Regions from separate parts of the Homo sapiens genome. Here region 2 is linked to region 1. The links are contacts of gene promoters, found by promoter capture Hi-C in human tissues and cell types (Jung and others, 2019). All regions are on one chromosome and are shown on one strand. The core of a region is centred on a gene start or on the middle of the fragment in contact, and the rest is flanking DNA. Distances in the headings are between cores, read along the strand shown.

Evidence for each region. Contacts are between HindIII fragments. The study calls those that stand out against the background at their distance.
Region 2: a contact is called between a fragment that was not itself captured here and the fragment with the promoter of SSX1 in region 1, in 4 of the 25 tissues and cell types used here (aorta, pancreas, small bowel and 1 more).

The regions. Positions count from the first base shown.
Region 1 is chrX:48,251,842-48,257,188 of GRCh38, forward strand. SSX1 (SSX family member 1) reads left to right here and starts at 3,551. Exons shown (of 8, transcript NM_005635.4): 1 at 3,551-3,591. The HindIII fragment of the contact is 20,804 bases long and covers 1-5,347 here.
Region 2 is chrX:48,205,631-48,210,977 of GRCh38, forward strand. It overlaps the pseudogene RNA5SP503. Among named protein-coding and RNA genes, the nearest start is that of SSX5, 12 kb to the left of the region's middle. The HindIII fragment of the contact is 6,299 bases long and covers 1-5,169 here.

The DNA of each region.
Region 1 (5,347 bases), core at 2,301-4,800:
AATAACTTGCTTTCTAGTGTCACAAATTCACGGCAGGAGAATTTTGCCCCAGGATGTTTCATAACCAGAGTCTCATCCATATCTGTTTTAGATGAGGAGATTTGGTACTTTTGAGCTGATCTTATATGGATAAGATGTTGGACTTCAGCTAATGTTGCACGGTTTGAGACATTTGAGGATTTGGGGATGGGGTGCATGTATTTTGCATGTGGGAGAGATGTGAATACTTGGGGGCCAGAGGGCAGGCTGTGGTAGACTGAACAACGCCCCTCCAAAAGATAGCAACATAGTAACACCTGGAACCTGTGAGTGTTAGCTTACAACAAAAAAAGTAATTATGTTGGCCAGGTGTGGTGGCTCACGCCTATAATCCCAGCACTTTGGGAGGCCGAGGCGGGTGGGTCACGAGGTCAGGAGTTCAAGACCAGCCTGGCCAAGATGGTGAAACCCCGTCTCTGCTAAAAAAAATATAAAAATTAGCTGGGTATGGTGGCGGGCACCTGTAATCCCAGCTATGCAGGAGCCTGAGGCAAAGAATTGCTTGAACCCGGGAGGCAGAAGTTGCAGTGAGCCAAGATCATGCCACTGTACTCTCGCCTGGTCAACAGAGTGAGACTCCGTCTCGAAAAAAAAAAAGTAATTATGTTAAAGCTCTTGAGATGGGGAGATTCTCCTGGATTGTCTGGATTATCTGGGTGGGCCCTAAATGTAATAATGAGTGTCCTTATCAGATTAAGGCAGGGAGATCTGACACAGACAGAAGAGAAGAAGGCAGTAAGCCTGCCATGGTTTGAACGTCCCCACCAAAACTTGTGTTGAAATTTAATTGCCATTGTTAACAATATTAAGAGGTGGGGCTGTTAGGAAGTGATTAATGCCATTATCATAAGAGTGGATTAGTTATCACGAGATTGGGTTTGTTATAAAAGGGAGCTTAGTCACATTTTCTCTGTCTGTCTCCTGCACTTGCTTTTGCCTTTCATCCTTCCATCATGACACAACCCTCACCAGATGCCAGCGCCATGTTCTTGGACTCCTAGCCTCTAGAACTGTATACCAAATGAACTTCTATCCTTTATAAATTACCCAGTTTGTGGTATTCCATTATAGTAACAGAAAACAAACGAAGGCAATGACCATGGAGGTAGAGATTAGAGTGATGCAGCCATATATTAGTCCCTTCTCACACTGCTATAAAGAGCTGCCCGAGACTGGGTAATTTATAAAAGAAAGAGATTTAACTGACTCACAGTTCTGCATGGCTGGGGAGGCCTCAGGAAACAATCATGGCCAAAGGTGAAGAGGAAGCAAAGACTTTCTTCGCATGGTAGCAGGAGACAGAAATGCAAGCAGGGGAAATGCCAGACGCTTGTAAAACCATCAGACCTCATGAGAACTCACTGTCACAAAAACAGCATGGGGAAAACCACCCCCGTGGGGATTTGTAATCTGTGGGGATTACAATTCGAGATGAGATTTGGGTGGGGACACAGAGCCAATCCATATCAAGCCACAAGCCAAGAAATGCTGGCAATCACGGGAAGCTGGAAGAGGCAAGGAACAGGTTCTCTCCTAGAGCCTCTGGAGGACTACAGCCCTGCTGACAACTTGATTTCAACTCAGTGAAACTGATTTCAGATTTCTGGGCTCCAGAATTGTGAGAGAATAAATTGATGTTGTTTATGCCACAAAGTTTGCGGTAATTTGTTACAGCAGTCAGAGGGAATATGGGGTGATTGTAAGGAGTTATGTAAATTATGTTAAAGAACCTTTGCAGTTGTAAGATGCATTCATTCATTCAACAAGTAGTCGAGGCAATATAGAAGAGTAATTAAAAGCACCGACTTTGAGGCCGGGCGTGGGATGGTTCACTCCTGTAATCCCAGTGCTTTGGGAAGCCAAGGCAGGAGGATTGCTTGAGGCCAGCAGTTCCTTCCAGATCAGCAGGGACAACATAGCAAGACCCCATCTCTAAAAAAAAATTATTTTAATTAAAAATAAATAAATACATAAATAAAAGCACAGACTTTGGACTCAATTCTATCTTGGGGGTGAATCCCAGCTCTGTCACCCACTGACTATGTGACTTTGAGCAGACTGCTTAATTCTCTTGAGCCTCAGTCTCAACATCTGCATACTGGGGATGATAATAGTATTTAACTCCAGAGAAGGTTGTGAAAATTAATGGGAAGATGCACATAAAAGGCTTTGTGCTGGGCTCAAGGGCCATTGCTCTGTTCCTGCCCTAAGAGAGCTTGCTGTAATCCTGGGAGGATCTTAGAGAGATCAGGGCTGTAGGTGGAAAGCCCAGAGAGGAATGGGGACTTGTTGGAGGTACTAGGGATGGGGGTAGGGGAAACTTCTTAGACAAATTGACTTATGAGCTCCCTGATGAACACAGTGGGCCCTAATTACATACTCTTTTTAATACTATTATTATAAATATTATTAATATCAATGGGTAAAATATATTTCTGCTTCTTTGGTCTTTTAGAAAAAAACATATATGGAAGTGTAGAAGTGTTTTTTTTTGTTTAAATTTCTTTTTTAAAAATTTTTTATAGAGATGGGGGTCTCACTATGTATCCCAGATTGTTCTGGAACTCCTGGCCTCAAGTGATCCTTCCACCTCCTGCCTCAGCCTCTCAAAGTGTTGGGATTACAGGCATGAGCCACTGGGACTGGCTCATTGAAATTTTTCTTTCTTTCTCTTTCTCTCTCTCTCTCTTTTTAAAGACAAGATCTCGCTCTGTGGCCCAGGTAGGCAGGAGTAGCCAGATCATGGCTCACTGCAACCTCGTACTCCTGGGCTCAAGCTATCCTCCTACCTCAGCCTCCTGAGTAACGGACTACAGGCACACCACCCCACCTCGCTAATTTTATTTATTTTTTTTGTAGAGAAAAGAGACAGGGTATTGCTCTGTTGCCCAGGGTGGGGTGCAGTGGCATGATCATGGCTCACTGCAACCTCTGCCTCCCAGGTTCAAGTGATCCTCCAGCTGTGGCCTCCCTAAGTGCTGGGATTACAACCGTGAGCCGCCGCACCGGCCCAAATTTCTTACGTCACTACAGAGTTCCTAGGAAAAAATCCCATACCTGAAAAAGATAGAAACTGACAGGAAGGATTTGAGATGATGACCTGCTTCATATACACTCCTTATTAAAACTGGATAACAATGCACCACCGAGGAGGTGGGGAGGGATAGGAAAAATGAAAAGAGAAAATCAGCGCATGCGTACTCTGATTTGGGAAGACTCCAAAGAGAAAATCAGAGCATGCGTACTCTGAACTTGGAGTAGCCAATCCCAGGGGATGCTTTAGGCGGGAAAGTCAGAGTTTCTGCCTCCATTTTGAGAAGGTTCTGTCCCTAGAGCCTAGACTGATAGACCCCACATCAGCTTGGCTTGTCCCGCCTACTGTTCTGACTTCTGATTGGCCAGATGGAGTTCACTAACTGCCCTGATTGGTCCATCATCCTGGAGCAATGACATTGCAGAATATTTTCTCCTCCTCCAGCCACACTTTGTCACCAACTGCTGCCAACTCGCCACCACTGCTGCCGACCTCGCAACCACTGCTTTGTCTCTGAAGTAGGTTCTCTTTAAGGGACACCCTAGATGGGCTAATCGGGGCAGATAGAAAAGGAGGAAGCCTCTGTAGGGCCGTCAAGTGCTTGGGGTTCCGAAAATCTTGAGGACTGAAAGACAACTAATGCCTTTCAGGACGATCATCATGGAGGATCCTCCCGCCTCGGCCTTGGGTCTACAGGCCTGTATTATCCCACCCCTGTTTTTTTTTTTTTTTTTTTAGTAGAGACGGGGATTTGTTATGTTGACCAGGCTGGCCTCAACCGCCTGGGCTCAAGCAATCCTCCCGCCTTGGCCTCGGGACTACAGGCACGAACCACCCCACCCTCACTAATTTTTTTTATTTTTTATTTTTTTAGTACAGACGGTTTTGCTATGTTGGCCAGGCTGGCCTCTGCCGCCTGGGCTTAAGCAATCCTTCCGCCTCGGCCCTGGGACTACAGAAGTGCACCATCCTGCCCATGCTTTTTTTTTTTTTTTTTTTAGTAGAAACCAGGTTTCACTATGTTGGCCAGGCTGGCCTCAACCTCCTGGGCTCAAGCGATCCTCACACCTTGGCCTCAGGACTACAGATGTGTGCCATTCCGCCCCTGCTAGTTTTGTTGTTGTTGTTCTTTTTAGTAGAGACAGGGTTTCCTTATGTTGGCCGAACTGGGCTTGACCTCCTCGGCTCAAGTGATCCTCCCACCTCGGCCTCGGAACTACAGGCAAGAACCACCTCGCTGATGTTATTATTTTTGTTGTTATTATTAGTAGTAGAAATGGGGTTTTGCTATGTTGGCCAGGCTGGCCTCAACCTCCTGGGCTCAAGAGATCCTCTTGCCTCGGCCTCGGAACTACAGGCGAGCACCACCCCGCCCCCACTAATACTTTTTATTTTATTTTATTTTTTTTAGTAGAGGGTTTTTCTAGGTTGGCTAGGCTGGTATCAACCTCGTGGGCTCAAGCGATCCGCCCCCCCTTGGCCAAAGAGCTGAGATGTTATAGGCCTGTGCCACCGCCCCCAGCTAATTTTTTGTGTGGTTGTTTTTTTTTTTTTTTTTTTTTTTTTGTAGAGATGAGGGGTTTGCTATGTTTCCCAGGCTGGTCTCAACCTCCTGGGCTCAAGAGATCTGCACGCCTCGGCCTCCCAAAATGCTGGGATTACAGGCATGAGCCACTGCGCCTGGCCGATTGCTGCAAATTGAAACACCCCACATTTTCTCTAAGTGATGGCAGGCTCTTGTAATCTCAGAGATTCTAGCTCTCTTCCTTCTAATAATTTACAAATAACCCAGTAATAGCTTCTAAATCTGTTCATATTAGTGAAGGTCATTTCTCTTCAACAGAACAGAACCCCCCCATCCCTCTGCCTGATCAGATCCATCACCAGAAAGACCACGTTATGTCTGGGACTCACTTCCCTCCCTTTATTTATTGAGTGGGGGTGTCAGAACGCCCCCATTCAATAAAATTACACAGTCACGTCCCTGCCTCCCCAGCAAGGGTCTGTACATCTTTCAGGGTAAGCCTAGCCCCAGGGAAACTACTAACAACACTAGCCAACCCCCTCCCAAAGACTCAAGGCTGCTAGGAAACCTGTCATCCCCAAGCAATACTTCTCCCAGAGACTCCAGGCTCCCTGTTTTCATCTGACTTCTCTCCATGTCCTTACCCATGGACAGGTAAGCCCCGAATGGAGAAATGCAACCCCTAATTCCAGGTGACTGAGTGTGGCCGGGCTTCACTGATTTCTCCCTCCATAGGACCAAGGGTCCTG
Region 2 (5,347 bases), core at 770-3,269, 48 kb before region 1:
AGATCAAGACCATCCTGGCCAACATGATGAACCCCCGTCTCTACTAAAAATACAAAAATTAGCTGGGTGTGGTGGTGGGCACCTGTAGTCCCAACTACTTGGGAGGCTGAGGCAGGAGAATCGCTTGAACCCAGGAGCAGAAGTTTCTGTGAGCCTAGATTGAGCCACTGCACTCCTGCCTGGTGACAGAGCGAGACTCCGTCTCAAAAAAAAAAAAAAAAAAAAAAAAAAAAAAAAAAATTTTTAAAGATTATAAAATATATATTCATGATATGTTAATATATAACAATTCCAAACTACTTTCTAGATTTTTACTAAAAATTAAGGTTATGGCCGGGCGTGGTGGCTCATGCCTGTAATCTCAGCACTTTGGGAGGCTGAGGCAGGTGGATCACGAGGTCAGGAGTTCGTGAGCCAACATGGCGAAACCCCGTCTCTACTAAAAGTAAAAAAGTTAGCCAGATGTGTTGGCCCATGCCTGTAATCCCAGCTACTCAGGAGCCTGAGGCAGGAGAATCACTGGAACCCGGGAGGTGGAGGTTGCAGTGAGCTGAGATTGCGACACTGCCCTCCAACCTGGGTGACAGAGCAAGACTCTGTCTCAAAAAAAAAAAAAAAAGAAAAATAGTCTATGGCCATACCACCTGAATGCACCAAATATTGCATGATCTCAGAAGTTAAACAGGGTCAGACTTGGTTGGTACTTGGATTGCAGTCCAATATAAAAATGAAAAATTGTAGGACTAAGACTGGGGGTAAAAAAATGATGGAATGTCTACGCAAGTTGCTGAGGGTTTATGAAGGATGAGCCTTGGGAAGGGAGTCTTATATATCATCTGGTTGGTTGGGATTGAAAAGAAATTGTTTATCAGTTTTTCTAAAAATTGAACATTAGTATCAAGGGTGCACTGAAGCAGGGTGAGTCTGCTCCTCTAGGTTTGAAACAGGTTTTCTTAACATGTTGATCTGTTTTTCTTTATCTTTTAAATAATCAGTCTAAAAAAACAGGGATTTTGTTTTAAGATAGTTTCTTAACTGCATTTATTAGGTTTTTGTTTTTGTTTTGTTTTCTGAGATGGAGTCTCGCTCTGTCACCCAGGCTGGAGTGCAGTGGTGTGATCCAGCCACTGTAGTAAGCAAGGTTGCTCACTGCAACCTCCATCTCCCAGGTTCAAGTGATTCTACTGCTTCAGCCTCCCGAGTAGCTTGGATTACAGGTGCCCACCACCACGGCCGGCTAATTTTTGTCTTTTTAGTAGAGATGGGGTTTCACCATGTTGGCCAGGCTGGTCTCCAACTCCCGACCTCAAGTGATCTGCCTGCCTTGGCATCCCAAAGTGCTGAGATTACAGGTGTAAGCCCCCACACCCAGCTATAATTAGCAATAATATAATAAATTTAGTTTGTACAATGGTTTTGAATGAAGATCCCAAGCCTAGGGGCCACCAGCTAAACAAATCAGAAGACTACGGGGCAATTGAGTGAGACCTCTTATAGTCTTTGAGTAGTATTTTGGGACTGGGTTGAATTAAAGCAGAGTGCCGACTCTATAAAAGGGACCACTAGGTGAAGGAAAAGATTTGGGGTCAGGTTCTGTCAAGTGAAAAATGTAGACATTCAGGGGGTAAGATTCTCATTATGATATGAAGACTTATTCTGGCATCTTGAGAAAAGCTGTCTACAGTGTGGAAACATCAACTTCTCATCCTGACTTGTCGAGCAAATGTCTCTGGTTATGGCATTGGACAGTTTGGTGAACTTTTTATGTGGTCCATACATCAGGCATGAGACTTGTTCTTTAAAATTTGTGCAGTTTCACCTTGTAGGACTTGTAAATCAAAAATAAAATCCTAAGCCCCCTGCCCCCAACCATCTGAAAAGACTTCCTCCTAAGCCAGGGCTCTTTTAAAATTTAACCTGAGAGACGGTTTCAGGCCATGACAGGAAGTGGGGGTCAGACATGCCTCATTATACTTCTCTGGCATCAACATCAACACAGACTTGAAGTCTGATAAGAAACATGTTGGCCGGGCGCGGTGGCTCACGCCTGTAATCCCAGCACTTTAGGGGGCTGAGGAGGGCGGATCATGAGGTCAGGAGATCAACACCATCCTAGCTAACATAGTGAAATCCGGTATCTACTAAAAATACAAAAAATTAGCCGGGCGTGGTGGCACATGCCTGTAGTCTCAGCTACTCAGGAGGCTCAGGCAAGAGAATCGCTCGAACCCGAGAGCCAGAGGCTGCAGTGAGCAGAGAAGGAGCCACTGCACTCTAGCCTGGCGATATAGTGAGACTCTGTCTCAAAAAGAAAAAAAAAAATGTTACAACCTATTCTCTCTGAAGCATAGTACCTGAAGGCTTCCTCTGCAAATAAGAACTCAAAAAAAACTAAGAGCGACTCACTTCACGTAATCAACTTTCACAATGGTTAAAGCAGAGTCCTGCTTAGCAATGCACAAAAATTCTCCTTTGTGACCCATTCATTTTACTGCTGTTGACTTTCTTGCTTATCCTTTCAGACAGAGACACTCTTCTTTGACCAAACTTGAGTGGGGCTCCTCTGAGTCCTGTTTCTGACTAGGCCCCAACCTCGGGCTCTGTCCTTCATCCAGGGACTCTGCCCATTTAGCCTGTTTCAGCAAAAATCCTGTCAAGTCAGTTTAGCCAGAATCCCCCTGCACCTGAGGTTTCCTCCAAGTAATTTCCCATCTTCTGACCCCCCGACCCTACTCCTTGACTACAAATCCCCACTTGTCCTTGGTGGAGATGAAGTCGATCCCAATATCACTCTCCCACTGCAAGACCCCATTGCAGTGGTCCCTGTGCCTATCACAGGAGTCCCCCCTCTGAGTAAAATCATCCTTACGATCTTTTTGTTATTTTCAGAGACAAAGTCTCACTCTGTCACTCAGGCTGGAGTGCAGTGACCCAATCCTAGCTCACTGCAGCCTCAAACTCCAGGGCCCAAGCAATCTTCCTGCCCCAGCCTCCTGAGTAGCTGGGACTACAGATACGCACTACCAAATCCAGCTATTTTTTTTTTAATTCTGTATGAACCCAGGAACTTGATATGCCCATCTAATTCTTGTGGTTTTTTTTGTTTTTGTTTTTGTTTTTGTTTTTGTTTTTGTTTTTTGTAGAGATGGGGTTTCACCATGTTGCCCAGGCTGGTCTTGAATTCCTGGGCTCAACCAATCCTCTTGCCTCAGGCTCCCAAAGTGCTGGGATTACAGGCATGAGCCACTGCAGCTGGCCCTTCCTTACAGTCTTTAATAAGTGCAATAAATACTTGTTTGCTTTAACATTTCCCTGTGTCTTCAATCTCCTCAAGTGTTATATGCCTGACATTGCCATACTCCACCAAAAATATAAAAATTCCTTTCTTTCACGGGCGCAGTGGCTTACCCCTATAATCCCAGCATATTGGGAGGCCAAGGCGGACAGATAACCTCAGGTCAGGAGTTGGAGATCAGCCTGGCCAACATGGCGAAACCCCATCTCTACTAATTTTGTACTAAAAGTACAAAAATTAGCTGGGTGTGATAGTGTGCACCTGTAGCCCCAGCTACTCAGGAGGCTGAGGAGGAGAATCACTTGAAACTGGGAGGTAGAGGTTGCAGTGAGCTGAGATCATGCCACTGCACTCCAGCCTGGGTGACAAAGCGAGACTCTGTCTCCAAAAAAAGAAAAAAAAATTCCTTTCGTTCAACACTTTGGAGTTATTACACCATTGTATCCTTGCCTCCAGTGTGGTGTTTGAGAGATCTGATGAAGGCTGAAATATTTTTCCTTTGTAAGTAACCTGCTATTTTCCTCTGATCATTTAAAAAAAATTTTTGTCTTTCATAATTTTTCATTTCACTGTTCCTGTGTGTGTATGTGTGTGTGTACGATGATCCCTTTAAATCTTAAGATATTCCTCTAAATCTGAGAAATTCTCACTCATTACTTGTTTAAGTACACTCTCCTTTTTAATGACTATGTTCTCTTCTTATAAGGCTACTATTAGATGTGTTTTGACATTTATTCTTCTATGCTCCCTATTAATTAACTTTTCTTTCGTTTACTTCATCTCTATCCATTACCGATTACTTTTATGAATTCTTTAGACTAATTTCCTCAGGTCAGTAATTGCTTTTTCAACTATATCCGTCTTAATATCCAATCTATCCCAATGAATTATGTATTTGAGCAGTTAATGTCTTCATATCCAATCTATCCAATAGGTTTTATTTTTATTTATTTATTTGAGACAGAGTCTTGCTCTTTCGCCTAGGCTGGAGTGCAGTGACTCGATCTTGGCTCACTGCACCTCTGCCTCCTCCTGAGTCCAAGCAATTTTCCTGCCTCAGTCCCTTGAGTAGCTGGGACCACAGGCATGTGACACTATGCCTGACTAATTTTTGTATTTTTGTAGAGACGGGGCTTCACCATGTTGGCCAGGCTGGTCTCGAACTCCTGACCACAGGCGAGCCGTCTGCCTCAGTCTGTCAAAGTGCTGGGATTACAGGCATGAGCCACCGCGCCTGGCCTATCTCTGGAACTTCTATTGGATGAACGTTGAAACTTCTGGGATCTATTCTCCATTTCCTTTATTATTTTCCTTTCATATTTTCTATTTCATGATCCTTTTCTGCTATACGGTGAAGTAGTGCCATGCCTGAACACATTTTTTCATTGGGTTGTTCCAGTTTCTCTTATTGATATGCAAAAGCTTCGTTGTATATTAGAGATGGTTGCTGTTAATTTATTGTGGATGCTTCACCAATTTCCCCAACATTTGCCTTTTTAAACAGTTGTTTATGGTGTCTTTTGAATTAGATGATACTTTAATTTTTACATCTTTAAATTTGTCAGATTCATTGCTCATAGCCTTGGTGTAATGTCAGGAAATGCCTATGCCAACTCAAGATGTCTTACACTGTAATATTTTCCTAAATTGTCATCTAGTTCTTTATGACTTCACGTTTTCACATTTAAGTCACTGATTTTTTAGAATTTGTTATTTTATGTGGTTTAAATGGATAGACACTTGTCAAGCAATCATTTATTATGCAACCCATCATCTTTTGCCCACTGTTTGGAAATGCATGCTGATGTTTTCATATAGATTAGTCTGTTTCTTGACTTCTATTTTGTTTCACTAATAAATGTTTCTATGCGTATTCATTTTTTATTGCTGCTGTAACAAATTTTGAATAGCTTAGACACTGCTAGGCGCGGTGGCTCACGCCTGTAATTCCAGCACTTTGGGAGGCCGAGACAAGTGGATCGCTCAAGGAGTTCAAGACCAGCCTGGCCAACAAGGTGAAACCCCATCTCTACTAGGGGTTGGTGATGGGCG